Regions from separate parts of the Homo sapiens genome. Here region 1 is linked to region 2. Evidence: promoter capture Hi-C in human tissues and cell types (Jung and others, 2019). All regions are on one chromosome and are shown on one strand. Each heading gives the region's core, a stretch centred on a gene start or on the middle of the fragment in contact. The rest is flanking DNA. Distances are from core to core; before and after follow the strand shown.

Evidence for each region. Contacts are between HindIII fragments. The study calls those that stand out against the background at their distance.
Region 1: a contact is called between a fragment that was not itself captured here and the fragment with the promoter of RNF185 in region 2, in 1 of the 25 tissues and cell types used here (lymphoblastoid cells).

What each region holds. Positions count from the first base shown.
Region 1 is chr22:30,771,617-30,775,093 of GRCh38, forward strand. The region is part of intron 2 of OSBP2 (oxysterol binding protein 2); the gene reads left to right. Among named protein-coding and RNA genes, the nearest start is that of MIR3200, 42 kb to the left of the region's middle. RefSeq lists an enhancer at 1,050-1,549. The HindIII fragment of the contact is 9,073 bases long and covers 1-3,477 here.
Region 2 is chr22:31,158,337-31,161,864 of GRCh38, forward strand. RNF185 (ring finger protein 185) reads left to right here and starts at 1,846. Exons shown (of 7, transcript NM_152267.4): 1 at 1,846-1,967. MIR3928 (microRNA 3928) reads right to left here and starts at 1,783; the gene lies at 1,726-1,783. The HindIII fragment of the contact is 14,525 bases long and covers 1-3,528 here.

The DNA of each region.
Region 1 (3,477 bases), core at 138-2,637, 390 kb before region 2:
GCTCCAGGCTGTCTTCATTTGTCAGCCTAGGTTGCTTCCCTTGTTCTGTGGCCAGTGGTCTTTGGTGAAGGATATCTGTTTGCAACATGAGATCCATCCACCGCAGATGATTTGAAAACCATTGGTCCAGAGCTTCCACCTGAATCAGGATTAGCTATAGAAACTGAGGCTGAGCTTGAAGGTGGGAAGGGCTCAGGCTTGGGCTCAGGCTGTGGCAAGAGGCAGGACCTGGCTGTTTCATGATCTCCCTGCTCTCCACGGCTTGGAGCCAGCTCTCCTTCCATGGAAAGGACAGAGGCTGTGCTTGTCCACAGGCCTCAATGCCTAGACACAGAAGGAACATTCTCTCTAGCCCCCAGATGTTTGGTGTGCACAGTGCCACATCAGTAGCCTGCCTTAGTCCAGGTGACAGCAGAGAAGGGTATAAGGGCCATCAGACAGCCGCAAGCCAGAGAATCAGGCCAGAGACAAGCCCCTGCGGCAGGCTCTGCTCTGACCTTGCAGGCTGGAGTTGGCGATTCACTGTGGCCTCAGGCACTGCCCTCTGGAGAGCCTGGATGGATCCTGCAAGTTGGGACTCCCGTGGGTGAGCTCTGGTTTTAGTGACTGAGTGGTGGGTTTTCCTTCCCCCACAGCAGCCACCTTACATTTTTCTTCAGAAGATGGTCAGAAACACTTAGCTCAGAAATGAGATAACCTCTCCTGAGGAATGAGGGTATTCATTTTAATTAGGCTCTTGAGTCTTGGTACCGTGCCTGTCGTGGAAGACCTGCAGCCACAAATGAGCCCATCTTTCCTTGTCTCTGTTAAGCACCAGAAGCAGGGAAGCCAGGCTGGCCCGTGGGATGTCTTGTAATGAATGAGGCAGCTCTGTGTCATAGAGAACTCCTGTGCAGAGATGTTTTGTGAGCTCAGCCAGAAGTGTCACCTTCAGAGCCTGGCCACAGAAGCCCTCAAGTCCTACCTGTCCTAGGAGCAGCCCTGCTGGCTCTGGGCGAGCCTGGGACTGGTTAGGCCTGGCTTTGAGGACACTCTGAGGTCTGGGTTTCCCTCTCCTCAGCTGAGTAATGTCCTCTGCCTCTCTTGGCCTCAGCACCTCGGCTGTTAGCTGGCATGAGCCCCATGCCCTGTGAGGTGTCACATACCACACGGGGAACGGCTGCTCTTGTTAAACGCATTTTTTTTTTTTTTTTTGAGATGGAGTCTCGCTCTGTTGCCCAGGCTGGAGTGCAGTGGCGTGGTCTTGGCTCACTGTAACCTCCGTCTCCTGGGTTCAAGCAATTCTCCTGCCTCAGCCTTCCGAGTAGCTGGGATTACAGGCCGCCTGCCACCATGCCCGGCTAATTTTTGTATTTTTATTAGAGACAGGGTTTCACCATGTTGGCCAGGCTGGTATCAAAATCCTGACCTTGTGATCCACCTGCCTTGGCCTCCCAAAGTGCTGGGATTACAGGCATGAGCCACTGAGCCCAGCCTGTTAAACACGATTTTTTTTTTTTTTTTGAGATGGAGTTTCACTCTTGTTGCCCAAGCTGGAGTACAATGTCATGATCTTGGCTCACTGCAACCTCCACCTCCTGGGTTCAAGCAATTCTTCTGCCTCAGCCTCCTGAGTAGCTGGGCTTACAGGTATGTGCCTGGTCCCGAACTCCTGACCTCAGGTGATCCGCCTAACTAGGCCTCCCAAAGTGCTGGGATTACAGGCGTGAGCCACCGTGCCTGGCCTCTTAAATGCCTTTTTATCCAGGACACCCTCCTGACTCCCCAGCCCAGGTCAGCTTCCCACGTAGTGGAAAGAGTGCTATACAACTCCTTCATAGCACCCACCCTAGTTGCACTGATTATTCACCTGTACAGTTATTTAGTGTTTGACTTCCCTGATAATCCATAGCAACAGGAGGGTGGGGATTGTGACAACTGGCTTGCCACTGAATGCCCAGTGCCTACCACCCTGCTTGTCTCAGAGTAGACATGCTCGAATTATTTGTTGGAGGAATGGGGGAGGGAAGGAGGGAGAGAGAGACTGCATGAATGAATGAGTGTGAGAAGTGGGCGCTGGTGCTCTGGCCAGACACAGTGGTCACTTTGGTCCACAGGCTCTGGGTGTAGAGGCTCTGGGCCACATGGATAAGCAGTCTCGGGGTCCTCACAGAGCCATCTTGGAAAAGCAAGTCCTTCCAAAGGATATCACCGAGTGTGGGAGGCCATGAGGGACTTCAAGGTGACTCCAGAGAGCTAAGCTAGAGAGGCACTCCAGCAGGGGCAGTGGAGTCCTTAGCAAGGGGCAGTCCGGTGGCAGTCACCATATTAGCCCTCCAGCTGCTGCCATTTGTGTGAAGCGCAGTGGGGGCCAGGGATGCTTGGCTGTTGTAATAACACAGGTGTCTGAGTTTGTACCTATGCAAGATCAATGCTTAATGGTCTTCCTCTCCCGAGTGGAGGACCAGTGTCATGGGTGGTCAGGACAGTCCTGACCACCAATGAGAGGTGGCTCATAAGAGAGAGGAGGCAAGGCTTGGACTCCCCAGGGGGGCTGGGCCCTTCCTTGGCTACGTAGCTGTGGTACCTGGGCAAGCCCACCAACTCCTCCAAGCTCTAGCTGCCTTGTCTCTAAAATAAGGATAGTTCCAGCCCTAGCCTACCTGACATCCACTGCGGGGACAAATGAGTGTGTGCTGGCGAAAGCCTTGCCTAGGATCACCATTGGAGTTGTTGTCATTTATAGGGGTAGCCAACAATAAAGTTGGGCCCTTCTCAACTCCTCTGTGAGGTGACGGTCATTGTGGAGAGCATTGTCATTGGAGTTAAGTGCCCAGGCCTCAAGCTAGCCAGTGGTTTGTGTTATGAATGCGCCACCACCTTGGGGCCCTTCAGTCAGAATGCTAGGAGCAAAAGGTGTGTCCCTAAACATTTCTGCCTTTTAAGAAAACGCTTCAAGTTTTGTAAAAATATTTGATGGAAAAAGAAAAGCACAGACCGTGCAAATCCCCTCAAATCTACTCACCCAGCAGTAATGACAGTTAAATCTTCACTGCAAGAATTCCGGACAATCTAGATATAGAATTTTATATCAGTGGGAGAATCCCAATATTTGGTTTTATAACTGACTCATTAAACTTGACAATATGTTGTGGATATTCCATGTCAATGAGTATACATCTGTGGCACCACTTTTTCTAAAAAGATGAATTTTATTATGTATACTTAGGGCATTCAATAGATAATAAAATGGTTACCAAACAATGAGTAACTATGTGAGATGATAGCATCACTTTTTATAGTATTTTATTATGGAAAAGATCTAACATTTCTATGCATGTAGATATACACGTATATGGTCCCCGTTCTCATCACTTAGCTTTCAATGATGTTCAATTATGGCCAATCTTATTTCATCTCAGCCCTTCCTATTTCCCCCATTATTACTATTTTAATATTGTGATAAATACATACGACATTGAATTTACCATTAAAGGC
Region 2 (3,528 bases), core at 596-3,095:
CTTGTATTACTTCTTGATCACAGGAACTTGCAAAGGTGGCTGGCAGACTAGGACTTTCATCTATGAGCTTATTTCATCTACTATTTTTTATTTTTTTTTCTGAGATGGAGTTTCACTCTTGTCGCCCAGGCTGGAGTGCAATGGCACGATCTTGGCTCACTATAACCTCTGTCTCCTGGGTTCAGGCAATTCTCCAGCCTCAGCCTCCCAAGTAGCCGGGATTACAGGTGCCCGCCACCACGCCTGGCTAATTTTTGTATTTTTAGTAGAGATGAGTTTCACCATGTTGGCCAGGCTGGTCTCGAACTCCTAACCTCAGGTGATCTGCCTGCCTCGACCTCCCAAAGTGCTGGTATTATAGGCGTGAGCCACCGCGCCGGCCTTTATCTACTATGTTCACCTCCTACTCAGGTCCGATCCCTAACCGTTCCTGGGATAACTGTAGGTACTTAATAAATGCTTGTTGAATGAATGAAGATGGCTGTCAAGAACTCCAATGACTGCTTGAGTGCAAATCACAAGCTCCATCACCTATCAGTATGTGATTTGATACAATATGTATTAACAGCTAATCCACAATCCATATTCAAATTTCATTACTTGTCCCAATATTGTCCATTACAACTATTCCACCACCACCACTACCCCAGTCCAGGGTCCTATTTAGAATCACACACCACATTTTGTTGTCATGCTTCTTTAGTCTCCTTTAAACTGGAACAGTTCCTCAGCTTTTCTCTGTTTTTCATGACAATGAGTTATTTTGTAGACAGTGTCCTTCATTTGGGGTTCTCTAGCACTTCCTCATGAGATGTGTACGGTGCACTTTTGACAGAAATACCACAGATGTGTTCTCAGTGCATTTTATTAGGAGGCCCTTGATCTGACCCATTAACTAGTGGTGTTAACTTTGATCACTTTGATCTGTTTGTTCTGCTAGGTTAAACCTCTGTAACATCACCATTTTCCCTTTGTAATCAATAGCTAATTTATGGGAGACACTTTTGCTGTTGTAAACATCCCGTTTCTCTAGTTTTACCACACATTATTGATTTCCTAATTCCACCATGTTTATTAGCTAGCATTCTACTAAAAGGAAGACTTTCCCTTCACCCATTAATATGCTCACTTCTTTATGTTTGTAAAGACTCATGGATTACTATTTTATTCAATTAGTTATACTCTATTACTATCACTCCATATTTTGATTCTGAAATTGCCCTGACTTGGCCAGTAAGATCTCCTTAAAGACAGCTCCTGTGTTCTTTGACACATTCCCATGATTCTTATTACCATCATCCTTATATTCTGGTGTAACAAGATGTTCCAAGTTTATCTGGTACTTTCCGGAATGAGTTAGTTCTTTCTCTCTCTCTTTTTTTTTTTTTTTTTTGACGGAGTCTCACTCTGACGCCCAGGCTAGAGTGCAGTGGTGCGATCTCAGCTCACTGCAACCTCCGCCTCCCGGGTTCAAGCGATTATCCTGCCTCAGCCTCCCGAGTAGCTGGGATTACAGGTGTGCGCCACCACGACCGGCTACTTTTTGTATTTTGAGTACAGAGGGGTTTCACCATTTTGGCCAGGCTGGTCTCGAACTCCTGACCTCAAGTGATCCATCCGCCGCGGCCTCCCAAACTGCTGGAATTACAGGTGGGAGCCACCGCGCCCGGCCGGAATCAGTTTTTTTCTTTTAGGAGCCCCGAACCCAAAGCTCTTTGAAAAGCTGCCGAAGCTCCAAGGTTCCTCCGCTTCCTGCCCGCAGGCGGAACCTTAGAGCTTCAGCCATGGAAATTAACCTCTTCCGGTTGGGGCCGGAAGTCCCTCCGAGAGGGGCGGCTCCGCGTCATGTGACTGGAGTCCGCGTAGGAGGGGTCGGAGGTCTTACCCAACAGATTGACGCGGCGTTAGTATTGGCCGTGTACCCGAAAAACTGATTGACTGGGCTGGCGTTAACTGTGCGGAGGCAGGTATGTGAGGGGCTGGGGTTGGGGCGGGGGCGCCAAAGTTTAGGGACGGGGGCGGGAGACCCGGGTCCGCCTTCCCAGGACACACGGGCTTGAACATCTGAGCCCAGGGGCCCAGAGACAGCAAGACCGGTCGTGTCTGTCCCCGAAAAGAGGACGAGCTGGCGTTGTGGTTCTGCGTCCCATGAATACAGATTGGGGAAACTGAGGCCTTGCGAAAGAGAAGGGCTCCCACAAGCTCTCCTTTCGAGGCATGGGCACTGATTCCCATTCTATCCCCCGTGCGAGACCGCCTCTATCATCTGGGAGTGCATTTCACGAGTTTGCCCTGAGTGGAGAAGCAGAGGCCGGGGAGCGCGGTGAACAGAGTTGGGCTGAAAGTAAGAGACCTGGATTCGAGACTTCGCCACCGACAGACAATTGTGCGTTCTGGGCCAAATCTCTTCCCTGTGCTGGGCCTCAGTTTTCTCGTCTCTAAAACGGGGCAGTGTTTTTCAAAATATGGTTCTTACACCATCTGCTTTGTAATTCTCTGAGATGCCGGCTTTACAGCGCGGGACTCAATTCAGACTTCTGGTTTAGAATCTGAACTTATGCGTAGGGGGGTCCTGTATATACTAATGTTTGAAGCTCATTGATTTTAAGTGCTTTCCTGCTGTGAGCACTAGATATCCATTCTTCGCTTTGAGGCAGCTGGTGCCAGTTCAGGAACTTTGAAAGAACTGGAATGGTTAGCTCAGTAAAGAGAGCACTGGAAGGGAATTAACTTTTTAAAAATTGAAAATACTGTTACGGCAAAGAGGGCTTCCACTTCATCTTTAGGCTAAAAGAGGCAGAACTAGGACTAACAGGTGAATTCTACAGGAAGGCAAGATTTTTGCTTAATAGAAGAACTTAAATGGAAGAATCGTCAGAGGTGACCACCGATGGAGTGAATGGATTGCCTCCGTGCCTCCTTTCGAGGGAGGTATATAGGTATTAGATGAAGGTCCTTTCCAACTTGAAAGTCTGTGATTCCAAGGAGTTGTTCTGCATCTTTCTGGTGCTGACTCTGCTCTCAAGGCAAATGTGACTTTTTTCTTCTCTTTTGACACTTCCATCACTTTAGCCTACATCTCCTGTAAATAAGGCCAATGCATCTGACCTTACATAATCTCTTCCTGGTTGTCCTGTGCACCATCCTTCTTTTCAAGGACTTTGGAATGACCCAATATCTGATAGAGGCACCTTAAATGTTTATTGAATGAATAAGTAAACTGGGTCCCACCCCATGGGTTAGTAGCTTTTTTCTAAGAACAAGTTGGAAATGCCTCTGAAGATTTTATGTTTGACCAGGAGAAGCCAGTGAACTCTGAATCACAAAATTGAGGACTCTCAGTTGAAAGCACCCCTTGAGGTTGTTCAGACCAGCCTTCTCTTCCCTGGAACATAATCCCTGCTTGAATCCTCTCTTCAGCAATATGTGTATAGATGTGAGAGAATTTTTGCAGTCTGTTGGCTAGCTTTCCATGCATCATATAAAAACAGTCCTCTTATAGACTTGACTTGCCAGTTCACACACATG